Regions from separate parts of the Homo sapiens genome. Here all the other regions are linked to region 1. Evidence: promoter capture Hi-C in 16 types of primary human blood cells and fetal thymus (Javierre and others, 2016). All regions are on one chromosome and are shown on one strand. Each heading gives the region's core, a stretch centred on a gene start or on the middle of the fragment in contact. The rest is flanking DNA. Distances are from core to core; before and after follow the strand shown. Region 1 holds the start of ZNF428 (zinc finger protein 428). Region 2 overlaps PHLDB3 (pleckstrin homology like domain family B member 3). Region 3 overlaps SMG9 (SMG9 nonsense mediated mRNA decay factor).

What was found. The method cuts DNA at HindIII sites, captures the fragments that hold promoters and counts their contacts. A CHiCAGO score of 5 or more calls a contact.
Region 2: a fragment that was not itself captured here is called in contact with the fragment with the promoter of ZNF428 in region 1 in 3 of 17 cell types (naive CD8 T cells, fetal thymus and total CD8 T cells); the score reaches 5.2 in naive CD8 T cells.
Region 3: a contact is called between a fragment that was not itself captured here and the fragment with the promoter of ZNF428 in region 1, in 12 of 17 cell types (non-activated CD4 T cells, naive CD8 T cells, monocytes and 9 more). The highest score is 9.7, in non-activated CD4 T cells.

The regions. Positions count from the first base shown.
Region 1 is chr19:43,616,438-43,621,218 of GRCh38, reverse strand. It overlaps ZNF428 (zinc finger protein 428), which reads left to right and starts at 1,590. Exons shown (of 3, transcript NM_182498.4): 1 at 1,590-1,661. LOC105372411 (a long non-coding RNA gene) reads right to left here and starts at 2,158. Exons shown (of 4, transcript XR_001753942.2): 1 at 1,587-2,158. RefSeq lists a silencer at 1,537-1,776 and an enhancer at 1,581-2,231. The HindIII fragment of the contact is 4,307 bases long and covers 1-3,761 here.
Region 2 is chr19:43,477,961-43,482,225 of GRCh38, reverse strand. It overlaps PHLDB3 (pleckstrin homology like domain family B member 3), which reads left to right. Exons shown (of 16, transcript NM_198850.4): 14 at 2,633-2,849; 15 at 4,094-4,179. Among named protein-coding and RNA genes, the nearest start is that of LYPD3, 14 kb to the right of the region's middle. The HindIII fragment of the contact is 3,772 bases long and covers 1-3,136 here.
Region 3 is chr19:43,748,640-43,753,098 of GRCh38, reverse strand. It overlaps SMG9 (SMG9 nonsense mediated mRNA decay factor), which reads left to right. Exons shown (of 14, transcript NM_019108.4): 2 at 2,352-2,507. The coding sequence starts at 2,358. Among named protein-coding and RNA genes, the nearest start is that of SMG9, 4.1 kb to the left of the region's middle. The HindIII fragment of the contact is 8,040 bases long and covers 1-4,459 here.

The sequences.
Region 1 (4,781 bases), core at 341-2,840:
GCAAGGATTACAGGCACCCCCCATAACCCCTGGCTAATTTTTGTAGTTTTAATAGAGGCAGGGTTTCACCATGTTGCCCAGGCTGGTCTCAAGCTCCTGACCTCAGGTGATACACCAGCCTCGGCCTCCCAAAGTGCTGGGATTACGGGCGTGAGCCACCGCGCCCAGCCCCATGTACTCTTCATGCCAGTTACAACCACCACCAACTCATGGCCAATCCCGATTTATCCATAACTCCAGTCAAATGTGTAAGTGCTATTATGGAGAGATCAGGAAAAGCCTCTCAGATTGACATCTGTACCAAGATATGAATGGTGAGCACAAGAGTAGGTATTCAAAGGTCAGAGGGAAAAGCATTTTCAGGCGGAGGGAACGGCAAGAGCAGAGGCCCGAGCTGGTAAAGAGTTTGGGGTAAGGTGGAGCTGGACAGAAATGGAGGGAGGAGGAAGTAGGTGGGGTCAGAAAGATAAGCACGGCCAGACCAGGTGTATAGCCCTGAGGCCATGATAAAGATTTTTGGATTTTTTTTTTTTCCTAATGGGATCCCTTTGGGGGAGTTTTAAGCCAGAATGTGACAAAGTCACTTACAGGAAGACTGGAATGTAGCCATAGTTGAACTCTAACATCGTCTATAGAACCATTTCCCGTCTCCAGTTAGGTTCTAGGCATACTAAGCTGCTCTTGCTTCCTCAATCAAAACATGCGCTTCTATTTTTTTTTTTTTTTTTTTGGCCTCTGGGCCTTGGCGCTTGCAGTTCATTCTGCCAGACCCATTCCCATTCTAGTTGGCTCCTATTCGTACTTGGCTTAAGGATCACCACCTCCTGGAAGTCTTTCTAGAACCAGAGGCCGGGGCAAGCGCCTCTTAGGCTCCCACAGCCCCCTGTGTTCCTCACTCCAGGTCTGACCTTCTGGGTAGTAGTTGTCTAATTAGGTGCGTATCTCCTTCGACTGGGGTGCCGTGAGTACAGGAGTATGGTTCACTGCAGAAACCACAGAATCCGCCAGCATGGGGCCTGACACCTAGGAGATCAATAAACCTTTATCCTGGTTGGGAGGGGTCCTGGCCCTCGTGCCCTCTCTCAGGATGCAAACTGATCCCCTACGAAGACAAGGCTACCCACTTCGCGTCAGTCTGCAGTCCCTGCGCGCATGCGCTTTGCTCAGGTTGCCCCCGCCATATGCTAATCACTGCGCTCTGGAGTAAGGCCCCTCCGGGGAATATGCAAATCACTCCTTCCAGTGCGGGAGGCCTTTCATTGTCCCGCGCTAGGATTATGCAAATAAGCAGGCCTCGGGCCCAGGATCCAGTCCGAACTAGCGCCCTCCACCCCCAGCGCATCCCAGTTTTGTAAGGCGCGTTCCTGCCCCGCACACGCACGCGCGAACCCTTCAGCTTCTTGTTCCTTTGGGCCGCGGGCTGTACCAAGTAAACCCAGGCAGCGAGGGGCAAAGCACGGCGCCCCCCGCGCGGGTCTCGTCGACGGCCCGACGCGCATAGCCCCTCTTCCCACAGCGCTACAGGACTAGTCCGTCTCGCCGCGCAAGCGCCCTAGGCTCTTCACGCCCCCTGCGCGCTGTCCTACCCTACTTGCGACGCAGGCGCAGAGGCTGGGCGTGCAGCCGCCGCCGCAGAGCCGGAGCGGGGGCCGCCGGCGCCGGTGAGTGTCCCGGGCAGGGGTGCGCGAGGCATGCCGGGAAGCGGGCGCTACGGCCCCGCTGCATGATGGGAGCGACGACTCCCGTCACCGGGGAGCCGGCGGTCTGGGGCCGTGGTGACCCGAGGGCTTCTTTTTCTCCCCCTACGCGTTTGTGCCGCCCTGGGGCATCCTGGGAGAACCGAGCGCTCCGCCTTGAAGCGCTGTGGGAGTCGGTCCGCTAGTCGTAGGCCTGGTGCATCCTGGGAAAGAGTGTCCCAGATCCTTGTCGAGACCGGTTCCTTTTATCCCACACCTGCCGCTGACCGTCCTGGAGGCTTGGAGCGCTTCCACACGGGGAGTCTGGGAAGGTGGTCGCTATAGGCCTAAGGCATCCTGGGAAGAACTGCCACAACGAATTGTGGGAACTGGCCGTTATTGTCCCGTAGTGGAAGGTTTTGCCCTGGTCTCTTTGCTCGAGCATTGGAACGGGTGCCTATTGTGTTCACGCGGGGCATCTTGGGAATTGACTGCTATAGGCCCAGGGCATTGTGGGGTCTCCAGCACTGTGTTTGCCTTTCAGTTTGGCTGCCATAGGCGTGGTAGGAGTGGGACTTGTGAACCAAGGGATGGCCCTACCTGACGTCTGGAATACTCTGGAAGGGGCCTTGTGTGACGTGGGCTTGGAAAAGTGTAGGCTGATGGGCATTGTCTCCTGGTAACTTCAGGGAATGTCTTGATTGTCCCAGGTGTGTGGTTGCCGTATAAAATATACAATGTCTAGTTAAATTTGAATTTCAGATAAACAATTATATCCAAAAGATACAACCTTTTAGAAAAGTATGTCCCAAATATCACATGGAACATAGCTATATTAATTCTTTGGGCTAGTTGCAGTGATACCAATACTTTGGGAGGCTAAGGCAGGAGGATCGCTTGAGACCAGGAGTTCAAGACCAGCCTGGGCAATATAGTGAGACCCCCGTCTCTACAAAAAAAAAAAAAAAAAAAAAAAGTAAAAATTAAGCCTGGCATGGTGGCGCATACCTGTAGTCCCAGCTGCTCTCCTAGGGGCTAGTAGGGTACCTTGAGCACAGGAGTTTGAGGTTACAGTGAGCTAACCTCCCAACCTGGTTATGGGGGAGTACATGAGTTAAGGCCTGGAAGCCCCTTTCCTACAGATCACCCTACTGCACTCCAGCCTGGGCAACTGAGCGAGACCCTGTCTCTTAAAAAATATAAATAAGTAGGCTGGGCGCGGTGGCTCACGCCTGTAATCCCAGCACTTTGGGAGGCCGAGGCGGGTGGATCACGAGGTCAGGAGATCGAGATCATCCTGGCTAACACGGTGAAACCCCATCTCTACTAAAAATACAAAAAATAGTCGGGCGTGGTGGCAGGCGCCTGTAGTCCCAGCTACTCGGAAGGCTGAGGCAGGAGAATGGCGTGAACCCAGGAGGCGGAGCTTGCAGTGAGCCGAGATCGTGCCACTGCACTCCAGCCTGGGCGACAGAGCAAGACTCCGTCTCAAAAAAAAAAAAAAAAAAAAAAAAAAAGCCGGGCATGGTGGCACGCGCCTGTAGTCCCAGCTACTTGGGAGGCTGGGGCAGGATAATCGCTTGAACCCAGGAGGCAGAGGTTGCAGTGAGCCGAGATCGCGCTACTGCGCTCCAACCTGGGCGACAGAGTGACACTCCGTCCCAAAAAAGAAAATTAAATAAATAAATAAATAAGGGCCAGGTGTGGTAGCTCATGCCTGTAATCCCAGCACTTTGGGAAGTGGGAGGCCAAGGCAGGAGGATTGTTTGAGCCAGGAATTTGACAGCAGCCTTCGCAACATAGTGAGACACCATCTCCGCAACAAAAACCCAAAAACAAACAAAAAAATTAATTGGATGTCTTCTGTTTTTATTTGCTAAATCTGGCAATCTTATCTTGGTATAAAGTAGAATTCCCAAATTAGATGGGGCCCTGTAGGCAATAGGGTATCATTAGAATTCTCCTCTGCCAATTATGAAATCTGTCTTTAAAAGCCAAGATTTAGGTGCTTTCTTTAGGAAGTTGCCCTGCCAATGATGCCAATGGTCCTTTGCCCCAGCCACCTCCAGGTTTCAATCTGAAGCTTTTCTCTTTAGTCCCCAGCATTAAACTTGACATCCAGACTTTGAAGGGACCATGTATTTTCCACCATTGTATCCCCAGTGCATGGGCCTTGGCATGTAAGAGATATAGCTGAGGCTGCATCAACTGGCCCTGCTTGGTTCTCTACTGTCAGGGAGTACAGTGGAAGACAGTAGTGGTGTGTGTGTGTGGTGGGGTTGGTGGGGGGCGGGGGCGGTCCGTTGGTGAAGAGGGAGAGAGAGAAGTCACAGAAGGCTTCCTGGCAGAGGCAGTATTTCAGCGGGCAAGAAGTATAGAGGTTCTTATGTTTGTGGTGGGCTTTGAAGGGTGAAAAGGAGTTCTCCAGGCCAAAAAGGGGGAAGGAGGGCTGGGCGTGGTGGCTCTTGCCTGTAATCCCAGCACTCTGGGAGGCCAAGGTAAATGGATCACCTGAGGTCAGGAGTTTGAGACCAGCCTGGCTGACATAATGAAACCCTGTCTCTACTAAAAATACCAAAAAATTAGCCGGGCATGGTGGTGGTGGCTGCCTGTAATCCCAGCTACTAGGGAGGCTGATGCAGGGTAGAGGTTGCAGTGAGCTGAGATCGCGCTACTGTACTCCAGCCTGGGCAACAAAGTGAGACTCCATCTCAAAAAAAAAAAAAAAAAGGAGGAGGAGGACATTCTTGACAGCAACAGTGGGTGTACTAAGACCCACAGATGTGAAAAGGCCTTGTGTGCACAGGGAGAGATGAGAGGTCTGGAACATCTGGAGTTTATAGAGGGGCAGGGGTGGGAGTAGTAATGGCCACTCTTGATGGAATACCAGCCACACACCAGCAATTTCTATCAGTGAGCCTACTGAATCTTCAGAAAAACCTTTTGAGCTGAGAAATCATTTTATGAAAGGTCTGGCTTCCAATCCTAGTTCATCCACTTACCAGATGGTGACCTTGGGCTACTCACTTATCACCTCTGTGTCTGTTTCCTCATCTGTACAAAGGAGATAATTCCCAGTCTAGTTATGGGGAGTACGTGAGTTAA
Region 2 (4,265 bases), core at 1-2,500, 140 kb after region 1:
TCCCAAGCCCATCCCTGGTCTCCTCCTAGATTGGGGCCCAGCTCCCCTACATCCTAGTTTGGTGACCTTGGAGAGTCACCTCTTCTTAAAGCCTCAGTTTCTTGATCTGTCTAGCAGGAACATTAATGGGTTCTTTTGGAGAAGAAACGAGGTAATCACAGTGACCACTTGGCATAGTGCCTGACACAGAGCGGGAGCTTCCACACACAGTGGTGATCCTTGGTCTTTCTGTGTGGATTTGGGGAGATTGCAGGCCCAGCGGGTACTCTTTAAACCTGGCCTTTCCCTCCCTTCCTTTCCCTCCTCCCTAATCCTTCTCATTTCCCCACCTCACTCTCCTGTCTCCAACCAGCAGATCTCATCTCTGTTTCTCATCCCTTCTTGCTCTGGCCTTGCTTCAGTTTTCTTTCTTTTCTTTCTTTTTTTTTTTTTGAGACATGGTCTCCCTTTGTCACCCAGCCTGGAGTGCCGTGGTGTGATCTCGGCTCACTGCAACCCCCACCTCCTGGGCTCAAGCGATCCTCCCACCTCAGCCTCCTAATTAGCCGGGATCCTAGGCACACACCACCATGCCTGGCTAATGTTTGTATTTTTGTATTTTTTTTTTGAGATGGAGTTTCGCTCTTGTTGCCAAGGCTGGAGTGCAATGGTGCCATCTTGATTCACCGCAACCTCCACCTCCCGAGTTCAAGCGATTCTCCTGCCTCAGCCTCCTGAGTAGCTGGGATTACAGGCATGCGCCACCACGCCTGGCTAATTTTGTATTTTCAGCAGAGACAGGGTTTCTCCATGTTGGTCAGGCTGGTCTCAAACTCCCAACCTCAGGTGATCCCCCCACCTTGGCTTCCCAAAGTGCTGGGATTGTAGGCGTGAGCCACCACGCCCAGCCTAATTTTTGTATTTTTTGTAGAGACGGGGTTTCGCCATGTTGCCCCAGGCTGGTCTCAAACTCCTGGGTTTAAGTGATCCTCCCCTCTTGGCCTCCCAAAGTGCTGGGATTACACGTGTGAGCCACCGCACCCATCCTGCTTCAGTTTTCTAACTCCTTGACACTCAAAGTGTGGCTGGTGGAACAGCAGCATCAGGGCCCACCTGGGAGCTTGTCAGACATGCAGAACCTCTCCCCCTACTCCAGACTCCACCCTGAAATGACTGAATCAGAGTCTGCATTTTAACATTTTAACAAAATCCCCAGCGGATCTGCTTGCATGAAGAAATCTGAGATGTACTACCCTGAACCTCAGTTTGACCTCCGGAATCATACCACTGTTTGCAGGGATTATTTGGGAAGAATAGGTTGGATCAGACCAGCTCATGGTCAGGCTCTCATAAATAGTGGACACTTGTATTGCCTTAAATCCTCCTCCCCAACCTGTATGACCATCTGAGGTGACCACTCTACCTGGTGAGTCCTGGCTCTGTCAGCTCTGGCTGTGTGACTTGTGCCGAGTGACTTAACCTCTCTGAGTCTTGGTTTCCACATCTGTGAAACGGAGATAAATGTACTTACCCCTTCAGGAGAGTTTGAGGGGGCAGAGATTATACCTAGAAAGTACTTAGCAGAGGATTATATTCATTAATTTCATCACAACAATAATAATGTAAACAAGCTCTCTCTTTCTTTTTTATTTTTGAGACAGGGTCTCACTCAATCACCCAGGCTGGAGTGCAGTGGTGCAATCATAGCTCAATGCAATTTCGATCTCCTGGGCTCAAGTGATCCTCCTGGGCTCAGCCTCCTTAGTAGCTGGAACTACAGGTGTGCAGCACTAGGCCCAGCTAATTTTTTGGATTTTTAGTAGAGATGGGGTCTCACTATATTGCCCAGGCTGGTCTCCAACTCATAGCCTCAAGTGATCCTCCCACTTCAGCTTCCCAAAGTGCTGAGATTACAGGCATGAGCCACTGCACATAGCTTCTCTTCTCTCTCTCCTTTTTTTTTTTTTTTTTTTTTTTTTTTTAAATAGAGAAGGGGTCTTCTGTGTTGCCCAGGCTGGTTTCCAACTTCTGGGATCAAGGGATCCTCCCACCGCAGCCTCCTGAGTAGCTGGAATTACAGGCTTAAGCCACCACACAGGCTCCAATCTTCATTTCTTTTTTCCAAAAAAAATTTTTTTTTTTCAGAGACAGGATCTCACTATGTTGCCCAGGCTGCCCTTGAATTCTTAGGCCTAAGGGATCCTCCTACCTCAGCCTCCCAAAGTTCTGAGATTACAGGCATAAGCCACCACACCCGGCCCGATCTTTATTTCTTTTGATAGGCCTCTGATGTTTCAGGGTGAGCTCTAGGGTCAGAAATACCTGGGTTCGTGTCCCAGTTCTGCTGCCTAGAAGCTCTGTGTGACCTCGGGTGCATTATGTCATCTCTCTGTACCTCATTTTGCTCATTTGTAAAATGGGGCTCACAGTTGCCATGAAGTGCCAAGGAGCTGATGTCCATAAAGTCCTGGGCAGAGCATCACAGTCAATCCACGTAGCCGTTGCATTTGTCAGATGGTCCTAGTTAATATTACCCTCTAAAGGCTGTAGCGGGCCTTACATGCAAGCTGCTATGACTTGCTCCCCTCGAGGGGCTCCAGGCTGTAGAATCCCCCGCCCCTTACATCAGCTGCCCCGTCTCTTTGCTCCCCAGGCCCCACCCACCCCACCCCACCCTCCAGGCCCGCGAATCTTGGATCTCCGGCAGCATCTGGAGGGATGGGGCCACAACCCGGAAAACTGCCCACATGTGCAGGTGTCTGGGTGCTGCTGCCGTGGACCCCTGGTGAAGATGGGCGGCCGCATCAAGACCTGGAGGAAGCGATGGTTCTGCTTTGACCGCCAAGCCCGCCGCTTGGCCTACTATGCGGGTAAGCCCAGCCTGGCCACCATGGGCCCCAGGACGCTGGAATTCCACTCCGGAGGCCTTTCCTCTACAGGCACCAGAAGTCCTGGCCCCCACTTTCCATGTTCCCCAGGATCCAGAAGTTTGGTTCCCTAGCTCCTAACTTCCCTACAACCCAGGAGTCCAGGCTCCCAGCTCTCTCTCTCCTCCAGACCCTGGAATCCAGATCCCCAGCCCCTCTTTAAGCCACCCAGAATTCAAACCCCCAGTCCTCCTCAGGGACATAGATAACAGTTTAGTACAATTCAAGCTTCCCAGGGCCCATGTTCCTAAGACACCCATGAGTCTGAACCTGCACTGTCAGCTGCCCCCAGCCCCCCAATGGCCAGGAGTCTGGGGCCCTTGTCCTTCTTCTCTAGGAGAATCAATTATTCCAAACCTCTCCTTGGACACTTTTTTTTGTTTTTGTTTTTGTTTTTGTTTTTTGGAGACAGAGTCTTGCTCTGTCGCCCAGGCTGGAGTGCAGTGGTGCGATCTCAGCCCACTGCAACCTCCACCTCCCCGGCTCAAGCGATTCTCCTGCCTCAGCCTCCTGAATAGGCGGGACTACAGGCTCATGCCACCACACCTGGCTAATTTTTTGTATTTTTAGTAGAGACAGGGTTTCACTGTGTTAGCCAGGATGGTCTCGATCTCCTGACCTTGTGATCTGCCTGCCTCAGCCTCCTAAAGTGCTGGGATTACAGGCTTGAGCCACTGCACCCAGCCTCCTTGGACGCTTGTATTGTCTCAAATCCTTCTTCCCTAACCTGTATGACCATTTGACTCTACTTGGTGAGTCCTGGCTCTGTCAGCTCTGGCTGTGTGACTTGTGCTGGGTGCCTTAACTTCTCTGAGTCTTGGTTTCCACATCTGTCAGATGGAGATAAATGTACTTACCCCTCCAGGAGAGTTTGAGAGGGTTAGAGATTATACCTAGAAAGCACTTGAGCACTCCCTGAGTTCCTTCCCTTCTCAGAGGCCGAGCATTCAGGGCCTAGGATTCCAGCTCCACAGACCCCACTCCCCAATCATGTCCAGTTTCTGTGCCCAGTCTCCCATCCAGCGTTAACATTCACTCACCTCCCAACCTTTAGAGACCTTCAGACTCTTGTCACCATGTTTCTTACCCAAATCCAGTCTCAGGACTTAGGGCCAATGACCCTCACCTCGACACACACAGACACACCTTTCTCACTGGCTCTCTTTTTCTCTTACCTCCCCTACCAGACAAGGAAGAGACCAAGCTCAAAGGTGTCATCTACTTCCAGGCCATTGAGGAAGTCTATTATGACCACTTACGCTGTGCCTTCAAGGTGAAGCCCCTCAATGTCACCCTGACCTCCCAGTTGGAGACTCAGTTGGAGTCAGGCCTTATCTCATCCCTGGCTCATCCTGGGGA
Region 3 (4,459 bases), core at 1,532-4,031, 130 kb before region 1:
CTTGTCTGGCTAGCAAAATTATGACTGCATCTTGTAAACAGACCCTTCCATTCTGGAGAGTCTCGGAGGGACCTGTTTATGTCATTATGAGGTGGGGCAGGGGAGGATTCATGGAGGGATTTAACAGATACTTCCAAGCTAAGCAAGGGTCAGCAAACTGTTTTTTTGAGACAGGGTTCTGCTTTTTTTTTTTTTTAGACAGGGTCTTGCTTTGTTACCCAGGCTAGAGTGCAGTGGTGCAGCATGATCATGGCAGCCTTGACCTCCCAGGCTCAAGTGATCCCACCACCTCAGCCTCCCAAGTAGCTGGGACTACAGGTGCATGTCACCACGCCCAGCTACTTTTTTCTTTTTTAAATGTTATATAGAGACAGGATCTTGCTATGTTGCCCAAGCTGGTCTCGAACTCCTGGGCTGAAGCAGTCCTCCTGTCTCGGCCTCCCAAAGTGTCGGGATTACAGGTGTGAGCCACCATACTCGGCCATTCAGTAAAACTTTCTGTTAAGGCCAGAGAATAATTATTTTAGGCCCTGCAGACTGTATTGTCTGTCTCAGCTCTGCCATTGCATCAAGAAGGCAGCCACAGACAGTTTCTAAATTGATGGATGTGGCCATGTTCCGATAAAACTTTCTATTTACAAAAACAGAAAGCAGACCAGATTTGGCCCCTAGGCCACACTTTGTCAACCTGACTTCTGAGCTTGAGCAGATAGCCCCACTGAGTTCTACAAACAGTTAAGTAGTCAAATACCACCCTAGACTGATGTGTGAACAGCTGGGAAAACTCTCTAAGGACCTGTAAACAGATACTGAAATGGTGGAGAGTGGGTTGCATAGGTAGCCAGACATTATATAACATCTCAAATAGAATAAACACTGGAGACACCTTGAAATGAAATTCACTGTGAGGGAAGGCAGACCGTCAGGAACGGAAGACAGACAGACACTGAAATGTAGTGGGATACCAGGTGAAAATAGGCCCTTGAGTGTTGGAACCTCACCATGACATACACTAGTAAGTGGCTGGAGCCCCACCATGACATACACTAGTAATGACTAATCAAGAGTAGCTGTTGGACTGAGGATCACATTGCTGGTTTGTAAGCAAATGCCTTGCTGCATTTTGGTAAGGAGAATATCCTATTTTTATGTGAACTTGCCCCTGTGAGTTTATTTATGTTGGAGCATTTTAATAGTTGGGAATAGTTTTGGCTGCAAGTAAGAGATAGATGTGTATTTGTTTTTCACTGCCTCTCGAAGTAGGCAATTCAAGGTTAACGTGGAACCCCCCAACCTTGTGTCTTGTTTTATTGTACCTTCCATTAAATTGCCTTACAGCCCAGGATAGCTGCTTGAGCTCCAACCTCCACACCCACATTCCTGTCACTGGGAGGAAGGGGCAGAAGGCATGTGCCAGAGTCTGTGAAGGGAAGTTTCTGGAAGCTGCCAAGCCACACTTCTAGTGTCATACCATAGCCAGAAAGTACTTACTCACATGGCCACACCTAACTGCAAACAAGGATGAGAAGTTTGTTCTGGATAGCCATGTACCTAGCTCAGAACTGAGGGTTTTACTTTTTTGGAAGAAGTCAGGAGTGGATGTTGGGAACCAGCTTGCAGTTGCTACCACAGGCCCAGAGCTCTGTTGAAAGGAAGGGCCTTGGCCGGGCATGGTGGCTCACGCCTATAATCCCAGCCCTTTGGGAGGCTGAGGCAGGTGGATTGCCTGAGGTCAGGAGTTTGAGACCAGCCTGGCCAACATGGTGAAACCCCATCTCTACTAAAAATACAAAAAAAATTAGTCGGGTGTGGTGGTGGGCATCTGTAATCCCAGCTTCTCAGGAGACTGAGGCAGGAGAATTGCTTGAATCTGTGAGGTGGAGGCTGCAGTGAGCCGAGATTACGCCATTGCACTCCAGCCTCGGTGACAAGAGCGAAACTCTGTCTCAAAAAAAAGAAGAAAGGAAGAGCCTTGGTTGGGCACAGTGGCTCACATCTGTAATCCCAGCACTTTGGGAGGCCAAGGTAGGTGCATCACCTGAGGTCAGGAGTTCGAGACCAGCCTGGCCAACATGGTGAAACCCCATCTCTACTAAAAATATAAAAATTAGCCAGGCATGGTGGTGGGTGCCTGTAATCCCAGCTACTTGGGAGGCTGAGGCAGAAGAATTGCTTGAACTCAGGAGGCAGAGGTTGCAGTGAGCCAAGATCAGGCCACTGTACTCCAGCCTGGGCGACAGAGAGACTCCATCTCCAAAAAAAAGAAAGAAGGGACTTCGTATAGTCTAGGATATGCCAAGTAGAGTAGGAAGAGACTCTGTCATCCTGAAATCCCCTCATTCCCTCCATAGGTAACCATGTCTGAGTCTGGACACAGTCAGCCTGGACTCTATGGGATAGAGCGGCGGCGACGGTGGAAGGAGCCTGGCTCTGGTGGCCCCCAGAATCTCTCTGGGCCTGGTGGTCGGGAGAGGGACTACATTGCACCATGGGAAAGAGAGAGAAGGGTGAGTGTCTGGACCCAGGAGCAGCATTCATGTATCTATTTGGTTCCACGCACCTGCCATGTGCCAGGCACTAATCCAGATGCCGGGGATATATTTGTAAACAAAACCTACCACCCTCATGGATAAAGAAGGTGGAGAGTGATAAAGGAGACTGTTCTAGATAACATGGTCAGAGAAGGTCTCTCTGAAGAGGTGACTTTTTAGCAGAGACTTGAAGGAGATGAGAGAATAAGCCATGCCAGCATCTGAGATGAAGAGCATTCCAGACAGAAAGAACAGCAAGCGCAGAGGCCCTGAGGTGGCCCATATCTGGCGTGTTCAAGGAGTAGCCATAGGAGGCCAGGATGGCTGCAATTGATGAGGAAGGAGGGAGAGAGATAGGAGATGAAGTCAAGTAACTGGGGCCAAATCATGTAGGACCTGGTAGGCCTTGGAAAGAACTTTGTATTTCACTGAGTGAAATTGGCATTGGAGAGTTTGAGCTGAGAGGTGCCATAGCTCATGTTTTAAAGGGTCATGTCATAATAACAACAACTGTTACTCTTTTTACTGAGCAGCCTATACTGTGCTTGCACTGTGCAAAGTCTTTTACATCCTTTGGGTCTTCCTGAACCCTTACAGCTACCCCATGAGGTAGATTCTATGATAGATCTGATTTTCACTAATGAGGAAAATGAGCCCCAGAGGTGAAGGGACTTTTCCAAAATCAGAGTCAATAAACTTTGGGTCCAGGACTCAGATCCAGGTCCAGCTTAGTCTCACATATAGCATCGCTCTGCCTGCTGTAGAGAGCGCCCTGGGCTGGGAATCAGGAGGGATCGGCTTGTGCCCAGGCCCAGCCTCGCTCCCCTCCTGTACCTAGGTGACTCACTGCCAGAACCTGCCCCCTGGGCTTTTTTCTCTAGGGCCCTGTCCACCTCAGAGATGTCAGGTAGGGTGGAAGTAGGTGACAACTGGGGCCAGCTTCTGAGCTATAAAACTGTACAAACATGAAGAATAGTTTTTTCACAGTGAGCTGGGCTCTTACTTGCTCCTTCTCTTGGGCCACAGTGTAAATGAGAACACGTAGTCTCTCTTCCTTCCACATAATGCCCTCCTGGGGAATGTTATCCCGCCACACCTTCAGGTTTAATCCTTGAACAAGCACCTCCTAAACCTCATCTTTGTCTCTAAATGTGCTACTGAGCCCTGGCAGCCTCTTGTCACACCCATGGGCTTCTTATCCTCTGTGTCCCGTGCTGACCTCGGCATCTTTCTGCCATTTTTCCTCTTCCCATTTTTTTCTCCCATATCAGTGACAGCCCATTGGGCCTTATCCTGAATGCCTCTCTCGCCTCTCCCCTGCTTCCTCTGTGCTAGTCAGGCACCAGTGCTTTACATTCTGCCGCCTGGTTATATCTGTGTGTCTTCTCTCTACCCTCACAGCGTTCATCCCAGGTATAGACTGAATATCCGAAGTGCTCCAAAATTCCAAATGTTTTGAGCACCAACGTGACATTTAAGGGAAATGTTTATTGGAGCCTTGCAAATGGATTTGGGGTGCTCAACCAGTAAATATGCAAATATTCCAAAGTTCAAAAAAATCCCAAATTCAGAACACTTCTGGTCCCAGGCATCTGAGATAAGAGATACTCAGCCTGTATCATCTCCCCCTTCCTAGCCTCCTGGAAGTCCACAGCCTCTCCTCCTGTAGTTTTTCCCTTGAAACTTCTTTTCGAAGCACTTTCACTTCGTCTTTTTGTTTGTTCTTCACCGTAAGCCAGTGAAGTGAGCAGGGTTTAAGTAAGTGTCCTCAGTATATTGGTGAAGGAACAGACACAGTTAGGGGTCAAGACTCTCATGAGGTTACTCAAGGAACCAGAGAAAGAACGGGACTCAGACTCAGATTTCTCCCCTCTTCAGCAGACTGAGGGTAAGTTGGGGAGGCATGAAGAGGTCAAGGCTTGGGATCA